3 separate regions of the Homo sapiens genome follow, and regions 1 and 2 are each linked to region 3. Evidence: promoter capture Hi-C in human tissues and cell types (Jung and others, 2019). All regions are on one chromosome and are shown on one strand. Each heading gives the region's core, a stretch centred on a gene start or on the middle of the fragment in contact. The rest is flanking DNA. Distances are from core to core; before and after follow the strand shown.

The links. Contacts are between HindIII fragments. The study calls those that stand out against the background at their distance.
Region 1: a fragment that was not itself captured here is called in contact with the fragment with the promoter of CYP26C1 in region 3 in 1 of the 25 tissues and cell types used here (mesenchymal stem cells).
Region 2: a contact is called between a fragment that was not itself captured here and the fragment with the promoter of CYP26C1 in region 3, in 1 of the 25 tissues and cell types used here (heart right ventricle).

Annotation. Positions count from the first base shown.
Region 1 is chr10:92,914,327-92,918,196 of GRCh38, forward strand. It overlaps EXOC6 (exocyst complex component 6), which reads left to right. Exons shown (of 22, transcript NM_019053.6): 7 at 1,432-1,587. Among named protein-coding and RNA genes, the nearest start is that of EXOC6, 68 kb to the left of the region's middle. The HindIII fragment of the contact is 5,917 bases long and covers 1-3,870 here.
Region 2 is chr10:92,841,368-92,845,475 of GRCh38, forward strand. It overlaps a transcript of EXOC6 not described here. Among named protein-coding and RNA genes, the nearest start is that of EXOC6, 5.1 kb to the right of the region's middle. The HindIII fragment of the contact is 6,111 bases long and covers 1-4,108 here.
Region 3 is chr10:93,058,565-93,062,329 of GRCh38, forward strand. It overlaps CYP26C1 (cytochrome P450 family 26 subfamily C member 1), which reads left to right and starts at 2,234. Exons shown (of 6, transcript NM_183374.3): 1 at 2,234-2,903; 2 at 3,446-3,670. The coding sequence starts at 2,700. It overlaps EXOC6 (exocyst complex component 6), which reads left to right. Exons shown (of 22, transcript NM_019053.6): 22 at 1-926. RefSeq lists an enhancer at 2,252-3,161. The HindIII fragment of the contact is 7,111 bases long and covers 1-3,765 here.

The DNA.
Region 1 (3,870 bases), core at 968-3,467, 140 kb before region 3:
GAACAAAAGGACTAAATAGTCAAATAAATTTTGGAAACCTGAGTTAAATAAAGTTAAGCGGATTTCTTTACTTATGAATTGTAAATCTCCTAGGAGGAGGATACAATATGTAATATTTATATAACTCATTTGAACTTAGAACCCTTTTTTCAAGGAACATCTGTTTTTACTGTGTGAATTGTTAGTTTTGTGCATAACATAATTGGGAAACAATACTCTAAATAAATGATTTTATACTCTGAGGACAGAAAATCATTGACAAAATTAGTTTGGGCACAGAGGGAAAGGGAATACACAGGAGTGATAATAATTTTCTCCAGTACCAGCCTCTAGGGGGCAGCCAGGATCAAAGTCTAGGTAAGAGAGGAGCCAGATTACTGCAACTTGCATGGTCTGATAACCTAAGTGTAGAGAAGGGCTGATTGGCAGTTACATGTGCCTTAGAGAGAACTCACCTAAAATAGCCAGTGCACGACCTTTCTATGTGCTAACAGAACAAAATAGCAACAATCTGACCCATCAAAACAGAGAGAATGTCTCGCAGTGTGTAAGGAAATTAAAATCCTGGAATTAAGTTTATATTTTTTTCTATTTCTGGTAATGAAGTTCTGATAGGGAAGTATTACTAAAATGCCTAAAAGTATGAGGGTTCTCAACTTTTTATTCTGTGTAAATGTTGTTTTTTGTCAATGATCAATTGTGGGATAACAGCTTCTACATTCTTAGTCTTCACAAACTGTGGGCATTTTCAGTGGGAAGTAAAATAAGCTTGCAACTTGATGTTATAGTTCCTTCTGTGAGGTTAATGGCTAATTCAGGAAGTTGGGAGTATGGCCAAAGAGTGTTGGCCAGTCCCCCTTGCCAACACACAATATGCCAACTGAGGAAATACATGGTTCTACATAATTTTAAGACTGTTTAAAAAGGAAGAGAAGCTGGGTGCGGTGGGTCACACCTGTAATCCTAGCACTCTGGGAGGCTGGGGCAGGCGGATTGCTTGAGCCAGGAGTTTGGGACCAGCCTGGGCAACATGGCAAAACCCCATTTTACAAAAAAATACAAAAACAAAAAAAACAAAAAAACAAAGAAACATTAGCTGGGTGTGGTGGTGCATTCCTGTAGTCCCAGCTACTCTGGAGGCTGAGGTAGGAGGATCACTGCAGCCTGGGGAGGTTGAAGCTGCAGTGAGCTGTGATGGTGCCACTGTACTCCAGCCTGGATGACAGAGTGAGACCCTGATTTTTTTTTTTTTTTTTTTTTTAAAAAAAGGAAATGAGAAGGCAAAAATCATGAATAAGAAAGGAGACATCACTACAAATTCTATACCTACAGACATTAAAAAGATAAAAAAAAACTATGAACAAATTTTTTGAACCAATTTTGACCATAATCAGTTTTGAAATAATCTGAATTTCTCTCTCTTCAAAATAGGCACAGCATCAGAAAACCTTCAGTGTTTCTCTGCAGAAACAAAATAAAATGAAATTTGGGAAAAATATGTATATAAATCGTGATAGAATTCCAGAGGAAAGGAATGAAACTGTATTGAAACATTCACTTGAAGAAGAGGATGAGAATGAAGAAGAGGTGATAGGTGTCTTTCTTTCTTTTCTATTATTAGATAATTTTTTTTCTTTTGGATTGTAATGTACATCTGTGTGATTTAGTCTTCCTGTATGCAAAATAAATTTATGTTGTAAAAGTTGTCAGAGTCAAAATGGAGTCAGTGTGTCAAACTTTGACAAAATGGAGGCTGAGAAGGCCGTGAAGGGAGGGCTGTCATGGACGATTAGCCTGGTATCAGGAGCTATCACAATAAATTTTTTGAAACCATAGCTTACTGCATCAGCCCTACAAGGACAGCTAGCCGCTTACATGTGAACACTTGTCTGTTTCAAAACAGGCCAGGCACAGTGGCTCACACAGGTAATCCCAGCACTTTGCAAGGTTGAGGTGGGTGGATCACTTGAGGCAGGAGTTTAAGACCAGCCTGGCCAACATGGTGAAACCCTGTCTCTACTAAAAATATAAAAATTAGCTGGGCATGGTGGTGGGCACCTCTAGTCCCAGCTACTTGGGAAGCTGAGACATGAGAATTGCTTGAACCCAGGAGGTGGAGGTTGTAGTGAGCCGACATTGTGCCACTGTACTCCAGCCTGGGAGACAGAGTGAGACCTTGTCTCAAAAAGAAGAAAAAAAACAAACAACTATCTTACAAGGTCAATCCAAAACTGTAAGGGCCTAACCATAACTCCAAAATTACAAGTCCTTTCTAGCAACTAGTGACACTCACCAGTGAACTTTCTTTCAAAACAATTTGCATAACAATCTGTCTCCCCGGTAAAACCCTAACCTCCTTTGTTCTGCAGACATGCCAGAGACCACCCTGGTCTGTGCATGTCCTGGATTTTAATCCTATTTCTTTGTTTATTCTCAAATAAATTTTTTTGCTAGGAAATTTTTCTGTATATATTTTTATTTCAAGTTGACAAAGTCAGTCAGATTGTATTGAGCTATTAGGACAATGGAGTCATCTGAAATGTTGGGCTAGATAATTGACAGATAAACATGATTGTAGATTATATTCCTAAATCTCTGGTAGTGGAATCTGTAGAAAAAGTGTAAATCTAATTTTTCTTTCTTTTTTTTTTTTTTGAGACGGGTTCTCACTGTGTCGCCCAGGCTGGAGTGCAGTGGCGCTATCTTGGCTCACTGCAACCTCTGCCTCCTGGGTTCAAGCAATTCTCCTGCCTCAGCCTCCCAAGTAGCTGGATTACAGGCATGCGCCACCATGCCCGGCTGGCTAATTTTTGTATTTTTATTAGAGACGGGGTTTCACCATGCTGGCCAGGCTGGTCTTGAACTCCTGGCCTGGTGATCTGTCCACCTCGGCCTCCCAAAGTGCTGGGATTACAGGTGTGGGCCACTGCGCCCAAATCTAATTATTTTTATAGTGATTACTTATATTTGAATTACCTGTTGTCAGATTTTTATTTCGTAATGTCTTGTCATTTGGCCTAATTCTGGATAGTCTACCTATTTAAAAAATTGGTGCTGAAATACTACAAAAATAACTCTACTATGATTAGTCTTTTAATGGAAAAAAAAAAAGTTCTAGTAAGTCTAGAAACCTTGAAATTATCCTTAAATATTTTCTTTCTTTCATCTTCTATATCCAAATTCATTCTCTCGTTCTTTTTTTCTTTCTTTTTTTTTTTTTAGAGATAGGGCTCACTGTGTTGCCCGTGAGTGCAGTGGTACAGTCATAGCTCACTACAGCCTGCAACTTCTGGGTCCAAGTGTTCTTCCCACTTCAGTCTCCCAAGTAGCTAGGACTAAAAGCACACTATCACCATGCCTGGCTAATTAAAAAAAAAAAATTTCTTATAGAGACAGAGGTCTCACTATGTTACCAAGGCTGGTCTTGAACTCAGATTATCTTAGCCTCAAATTATCCTCTCACTCAGCCTTCCAAAGTGCTGAGATTACAGGTGTGAGCCACCATGCCCGGCATCCTATTGCTTTCGAAAGTTTTTTCTACAGGGCTTGATGCCGTGGCTCATGCCTGTGATGCTAGCACTTTGGGAGGCCGAGGGGGGCAGATTGTTTGGGCCAGGAGTTTGAGACCTGCCTGGCCAACATGGCGAAACCCTTTTCCTACAAAAAATACAAAAAAATTGCCAGGCATAGTGCCTGTATTCCCAGCTACTGGGGAGGCTGAGGTGGGAGAATCACCTGAGCCAGAGGAGGTTGAGGATGCAGTGAGCTGTGATCATGTCACTACATACCAGCCTGGGTGACAGAGTGAGACGCCCATTTCAAAAAAATAAATAAAATTATCTCCACAGAATCTTCTATTGAACTTACCTT
Region 2 (4,108 bases), core at 188-2,687, 220 kb before region 3:
TATATGCAGGGGAGAGAGGTGTCAATTTGAAAAATCACATTCACTAATGCTTATATTTTATACTAATGCAATATCATGACCTGATTTAATCTCTAATGAGAATAGTATAGCGTTCTACATAAAAATGGAGTCCAGAGAAATTGTTCAGAAATAAATTTGGGCCTAACTGTGACAGAGGCTTGCTGCATCTGTTGCACCTCCAAAAAGCCTGGAATGTCTTATGAGACTCGGCTATACAGTTACCCAATTTTTGCTGGACATTTAAGTGATATCATTAGCTATGTGATGTTTATTGCAACACTAGATAAAACTTTAAAAACATTTTTATGTTTAGGAGCCAAATATTCCAACCAGGGGGACAGTTTTGCTTATTTAGTGGTTAAGTGAATGGGTTTTGGAACCAGAAGGATATGGGTTCAAATTCTGCCTTTATAATTACTAATAGAGCTGTTGAAAGGATTAGTTGAATTAGGCATGAAATGTATTAATGAAATGTAATGTCTCATAGCAAATGCTCATTCACTCATTCATTTAGTAAATAAATAATAATGGCACATTTACAATGTGACAGGCAGTGGTCTGGGTGCCGTTGATACAGCAAGATCAAGATCTGGAAAGTCCATGCTCACAGGGAGCTTGTATTTTAGTGAAAAGAGCCAGAAATACACCAAAAAAAAAAGTGTTAATAAGTGCTATGAAGAATAAAAACCAGGCCGGGTGCAGTGGCTCACGCCTGGAATCCCACCACTTTGGGAGGCCGAGGCAGGCAGATCATGAGGTTAGGAGTTCGAGACCAGCCTGGCCAACATGGTGAAACCCTGTCTCTACTAAAAATACAAAAATTAGCCGAGTGTGGTGGTGCACGCCTGTAATCCTAGCTACTCAGGAGGCTGAGGCAGGAGAATTGCTTGAACCCGCGAGGTGGAGGTTGCAGTGAGCTGAGATCACACCATTGCACTCCAGCCTGGGCAACAGAGCGAGACTCTGTCTCAGAAAAAAAAAAAAAAAAAAGGGTAAGGAATAGGAAGATTTAGGGATGCTAATATCCCTAGCCAGGGAGTAAATGTCAGCTGTCATCATCATCATCATCATCATCATCATCATCATTTCATTAGCTACATTTCAAATCCTATTTTGCCAAGAGGAGAGAGAAAAATCGGACAAGGGAGAGGAAAGGGAGAAAGGGCAAAGGGCAGTAAAGGAAGGCTAAGCAGGGAAAGAGAGAGGAATAGAGAGTGCATTGAACAGGATGACGAATAAGAAAACCAACAAGGAGAAGGAAGGTAAGAGTAGGGAGCAGGGACAATTGCTTGTCTTATAAACTGGTGGTGGTGGTGGAGTTGGTGGGGTGGGGGGTGTGTTATTTGAAGGAAAGAGAGAATGGAACTCAGAGAAAATGATATTGTTCTTTAACTGCTCAGTGGACTTTAAAATGTTTAGTTTTGAGGGCTTTCAGGACATTTTTCTGAGGGCAGGGTTGGCAACATAATTTGTGGGGCCCAGGGCAAAATGAAAATGTAGATTCCTTTTTCAAAAATTATTAAGAATTACAAGATGGTGATGACAGGGTATTGAACCAAAGGCAACTGCGTAGGTCACACACCATGAGCCAGCCCTGTCTGAGAGCTTAATACATGAACATGGTACACAGCAAACATTTAATAAAAATAGTTGTTGAATGAACAAAACCCGGGGCTAGTTGCTTTTGAACTCCTCTGAGGACTGGCCCGTATTTTAGAAAAAAACTGATTTTATTTGGCTTCAATTTCAAATTTCCTTCTATTGTTCTCCACCGTGGGGTCCAGATCTTTATGGAACAGCCGATTCCTGCACAGGGTTTTACAGCAGGAATCCTCCCAGACCAGCTGGGCTTTGTTTATTCTCTTGCACTTACAGAGTGTGGCCACTTGGGGTCACCACACCAAAAAGGCAGAAGCTGGAGGAGGGCCCCTGCGACGGTGGACATCTGAAACGAGTGGCTAAAAGCCACTGGGAAGGATTAGTTTATCAGAGCCAATGTATAAAGACTGCCTGTACTTTACATTTTGATACAGTTCTATAATTCTATAACAAGAGCTCTAAAACTCTTTAAGAAACATTTGAATGATGTAAAGTTTTGCGAGGATAATGATAGGGTTCCCAGGGGTGAGGAGGGGAATCTTTTTGTAAATGTGTACCCTACCTCTAAAAGCATGCATTTGGCCGGGCGCGGTGGCTCACGCCTGTAATCCCAGCACTTTGGGAGGCCGAGGCGGCGGATCACAAGGTCAAGAGATCGAGACCATCCTGGCCAACATGGTGAAACTCCATCTCTAGTAAAATACAAAAAATTAGCTGAGTGGGCCGTCGCGGTGGCTCCCGCCTGTAATCCAAGCACTTCGGGAGCCCGAGGTGGGTGGATCACGATGTCAGGAGTTCAAGACCAGCCTGGCCAAGATGGTGAAACCCTGTCTCTACTAAAAATACAAAAATTAGCCGGGCGTGGTGGCTGGCACCTGTAATCCCAGTTACTCGGGAGAGAACTGCTTGAACCTTGGAGGTGGAGGCTGCAGTGAGCCGAGACTGCACCACCGCACTCCAGCCTGGGCGACAGAGCGAGACTCTGTCTCAAAAAAAAAAAAAAAAAAAAAAAAATTAGCTGGGCGTGGTGGCACGTGCCTGTAGTCCCAGCTACACAGAAGGCTGAGGCAGGGGAATCACTTGAACTTGGAGGGCGGAGGTTGCAGTGAGCCGAGATCGCGCCACTGCACTCCAGCCTGGTGACAGAGCAAGACTGTGTCTCAGAAAAAAAAAAAAAGGAAAAAAAAGAAAAACATGCCATTTACAACATTAAGCTTAATACGACAAGTATTTGCATGTGGATCATTCACTTATTAATTGAGCCTCTACTATATGCAAGGCACTGGGCTGGGCAGTGAACAATACAGGCATCGTCCCTGTGCCTGATGTAGGAGCAGTTCCTGGAAATGGAGACAGACTCAGTGATTTGTTCACCACCATGATATGTGCTTCCAAGGATGAGTGAGCACTGCTCCCAAGGACAACGAAAGGTGCTTGCCTTAAAAGCGCAGGATCCAGAGGGTTCACTAAAATGGGTCTGGAACCAAGAATCCAACCCAAAGACATGTTCCTGTTTCCCTCTCTACAAAAGCAGGAAACATATTTCAGTTGGTTTACATCCACCAAACATGCAGAAAACCCTGATACACAATCAGGTTTTTTTTTAATGATTAGGAAAAAGAACATTTATGTGTCTGGTTTTTATTTTTATTTTATCAAAGAGGAGGCTAAAATGCTGGGCTCTCTGGCTTACTAGCAAATGCCTGATAACCCTAGTCGCCAATGCTAATGTTGATTGAGCTCTAGGCTAAACATAATACATATATTATCTTCTTTAATCCTCACATAATTTGGTGAGCTAGGGATTCTTATTGTCCTTAATTCACACTTGAAGAACGTGAGCCTTAGTCAAGTTAAGTAACTCCCTGAGGCCTGACATCTAGTAAGAGATGAGTTGGAATTTGAATTCAAGTAGTTAAATGCCAGACCAGAGCAGTTGCACTCTACAACCTCATTCTGAGGGAGGCGCTTTCCCAAGACAGGTCATTAGTCTGTAGATAAAAGGCGCAAAGTTAAGTTCCTAATGACTAAGAGTTTATTTACAAGTCAAATCCTTACTTTGCCAATTACTTTTATACTGGACACAAAATGCATCTCCTGTCCTGCTGGTCTTCCTGGTGTATCTTTCTTCTTCCAGGAGTCCTGAAAAGAGATTTTGGATTGATCTCTGGAAGTCAATATCCACTGCCAAAAAATAATTCCACATGCATCTGCAATCTGCCTGTCTGTGCCCTGCTACTCCGCAACCTTCTCAGTGCAGACGTTAAATCATTCACTCCTTGGGGCTGGGCGTGGTGGCTCATGCCTGTAATCCCAGCACTTCAGAAGGCCAAGTCAGGGCAATCACTTTAGGGAAGGAGTGTGAGACCAGCCTGGCCAACATGGTGAAAGCCCATCTCTACTATAAATACAAAAATTAGCTGGATGTGGTGACATGTACCTGTAATCCCAGCTACTCAGGAGACTGAGGCAGGAGAATCGCTTGAAA
Region 3 (3,765 bases), core at 984-3,483:
ATTTTTTCACTTTTAGGGGAAAATGCAAAAGTGTAATACATAAATTGTCACAAATTATACATGAAATTGATTACAAATACATTTGAAAAACATATGCCTCTACTCATAAGTATTTTTTTCTATTTAGACTTGAATGATAATCTGTTTTTTGATCAGTATATGGCTTTGGAATTCAATCATGTCTGATATGGTAGTATTTCACTACCATTTTCTGACTTTTAGCTTTTATTTTCACCTCAATGTGATTTAAGCAGACCAAAATTTCTAATTCTGCTAATTCTGAAGGGGAAATAGACAAATCTTAAAAGCTGCCTGAAATCAAACTTGATTTAACTCAGTAAGAATGTGAATTATTTGTTCTACTTGGGTGGTTTAATTTAATCGTTCTGAATATGAACAAAAGGTTTTGGATTTTCTAAAGATGCAGTGTTGTTTCTGTTCATCAGGGTTAATATTTCTAACTATATTGCTTGTAGGTGACCCCATTCTGGATTTGTTTGGTTTGGTTTGGTTCCAGTTAAAAGAGAGGACAGGAACTAAATGGGGCTAACCACTTCAGGTGCAGCTTGTGCGAGGGTAGATGGTTCCTGCACACAGAAGTTACCACAGGGGTCAGGTTACTTTCTTCAAATAGCAGATTTCAGTACTTTATCCTCATTGTGGAAACAAGCCAAACCAAATGAACTCTGGAAAACCTAAAACAAATGTACATTTTCCTTTGTGTATGTTTCCGTGGTCCAAATGGCAATATAAATCCAGTCTTTATTCTCCCTTTGTTGTATTTATGCTGAATCTTCCCTTTGCCTTTTCAGGATTTAGGCCTGTAAGAAACTATGCCTGATTCTGTAAAATAAGTGTAAAGAATTATATGTACATCTCTGGATTTTGTGATGAAATATTAAAAATATTGAGCAAGTTGTTGAAAATGCATTACTATTTTGTCTATTCAGAGCTTACTGATTTAAAACAAGTGCTTCCTGGAGAAAAGGCATATTATTTCCTAGTTACTGGAATGGGAGTGGCACCAAAACAGTATATATACATACACACACACACACACACACATATATATACATATGCGCACTTGTTCTCTCGATCATCTCTTAATCCAAAGTATTTAATGTTTTTAAAAATATTACATGAAAAGCATGGTAGTTCTTCAGGCACGGTGAAATCTGGAGGAGAGGAGCGGTGAACAGCTAGCTCTCTTTGAAGACTGGAATGGGGCTGCCCTTCGCGCCTTACCCAGCCTTCCAGCGTACTTGGGGTGTCTTCCCTGCTTTGGCTGAGACGTCCCGGGATTCAGAGAGATACTGCCTTTGCACTGCCTGGAGGAGACCACTGTGGGACCTCTTTACTCTTACCAATAATATAAACACCCTGCACCCCTCCACACACACCCCAGGTTGCACTGTAGGGACAAGAACGAGTGAGTCCTGAGGCATTTGGAACCCTTGAATGGGACGCACAAAGCCCAAAACGCAACAATGTAGATTGACAAGAGTCGTCGGGCAAACTCGGGGGAGGGAGGGAAGGATGTGCAGGGAAGGATGAATTCGGTCCTTGAGACCGGAAAGGTGCTCGTGGGTATCCGCTTCTGGAGGCTTAGGACGTCTTTATGAAGCCTAGGGCAGTAGTGGAACTGCCATCTTTGGAAGGATACCTGACGTGGTAGATCAGAGAGCCGGGAGAGGTGGGGAGCTGTCGGAGAATCTCGGCTGCGCTATCCCTCCTGGGCTTTTGCGATGCCAACGCAGGCGTCGACGACTGCAGTTTCCCTGAAATAGTCGGAGCAAAGGAGAGAAAAGCCCAGTTCTTTCACCTTGGAGTGGCGAGAGAAAGGCACCTAGAAGCTCGAGGGCGGGGACGGCAGAGGGAGCCAGCGGCCGGGGGTGGGCCAGGAGCACTGCGGGGCGCAAGCCCGGGTCAGTTCTGCGCGTTGGGTTCGCCCACTTTCTGAGCGCCTGCGAAGAGCGGGGAAGCTCTGGCGCGAACCCGCAGGCCCCGCCCGAGGACGCTCGCGGGGCGAGCCCCCAGCCCAGCTCGAGCCGCCCCGGCGCCTGCCACTCCCTACTCAGAGCCCCTCCGTGAGCGCGCCGCTGCCCACCGCCTCCAATCACCACTCTGCGTGGAGCGCTTTAAATATGCAAAGACACGTCACGTTGTGTGAACCGGGATCGGTCCGTAGGGGGGGAGCCAATATCTATATAAACGTGTCCAGCGTGGGCCAAGAAGGGTTAAACGACTGGAGGAGGGACAGGTGGGGCGGGGGTCTGCAGACCAGGTTGGCAACACTGGTGAGTTGCTCTTCTTTCGCCCTCCTTCCCTTCTTCTATCCAAAGGGTGCTGAGCCCGGGAGGAGGTGGGAGGTGCCCCGCGGAGCCGGGAGTGAGCGTTCCCGAGGCAGCAGGCACCTTCGAGAGGGACTGGCATTTGGGCCCAGGAGCCAGGAAAAAGTCCTGAGCGTGCCGGCCTCGAGGAAGGCACGTTCCCTAAGGGCGCACGGTCACTGCAGTCTTTCACCGTCCGTCTGTTTTTAGAACAGAGTTCTGGCCTGAGCTTATAAATCTCGGGCTTTGCCCCCAAACCCCAGGCCTTTTGCGGACGGAACAGGTGAGCACTGCGCACTGCTCGCGCCCCGGTTCTTGCGTCCCCTGCTCTCCCTGCGCTCTGAGCGGCCTGGCCCCCGCGGGCTCATCATGTTCCCTTGGGGGCTGAGCTGCCTGTCAGTGCTGGGGGCGGCGGGCACTGCTCTCCTGTGCGCGGGCCTGCTGCTCAGCCTGGCCCAGCACCTCTGGACCCTCCGCTGGATGCTGAGCCGGGACCGGGCCTCCACCCTGCCTCTGCCCAAGGGCTCCATGGGGTGGCCCTTCTTCGGCGAAACGCTGCACTGGTTAGTTCAGGTGAGCAGTCCTTCGACCCCGAGCGCTAATACGGTCCCTTCTTCCCCCGGCTCCCACTGGACCCTCCTCAGTCTCAATGCCCATGGGATTTGTAGCCAGTCCCTGCCCATCGCCCACGACCCCGGGAAGCGCGCACAACTCTCGCCTTTACCTAGATACTCCGTTCCCTCGAAGGGACCTCAAGTCACTGGAATTCCCCCCAGAGCAACTCCCAGACACAACGCAGGGGGTAAACATAAGGGGTTTTAGGAAGGGGTCTGAGGAGCACGTCCTGCAAGGGTAGAAAAGGAGCCTGGAGCTTGGCCCAGCTGTGAGCCCTTGGGCCCTCACTTCTTCACTCTGAGTCTGTTTCCTCATCTCACCAATAGGAACAGGAGCATGTACATTCCCGTAGAGTAGATACCAGGCCCACTGGGGATCTTGTTTTGTAAACGCGCCAGCCAGGGACAGGAAGTTGTGATCAAAAGGCAGCTGGAAGGTCTGGGTCAGATCCCAGCCCAGGCCCAGAAGTTCCAGCTCTCCACCCTCCGCCTCGCCCGCAGGGCTCGCGCTTCCACAGTTCTCGCCGAGAGCGCTATGGGACAGTGTTCAAGACGCACCTGCTGGGCAGGCCAGTGATCCGCGTGAGCGGCGCGGAGAACGTGCGCACCATCCTGCTGGGCGAGCACCGCCTGGTGCGCAGCCAGTGGCCGCAGAGTGCGCACATCCTGCTGGGCTCGCACACACTGCTAGGTGCGGTCGGCGAGCCGCACCGGCGGCGGCGCAAGGTGAGTGGAAACGGGAATGGACCGTAGATACGTCGGATCCGCGGTCCCCGGCATCTGCCATGGGCCAGGCCGGGGCCCCGGTGTTGGATACACTG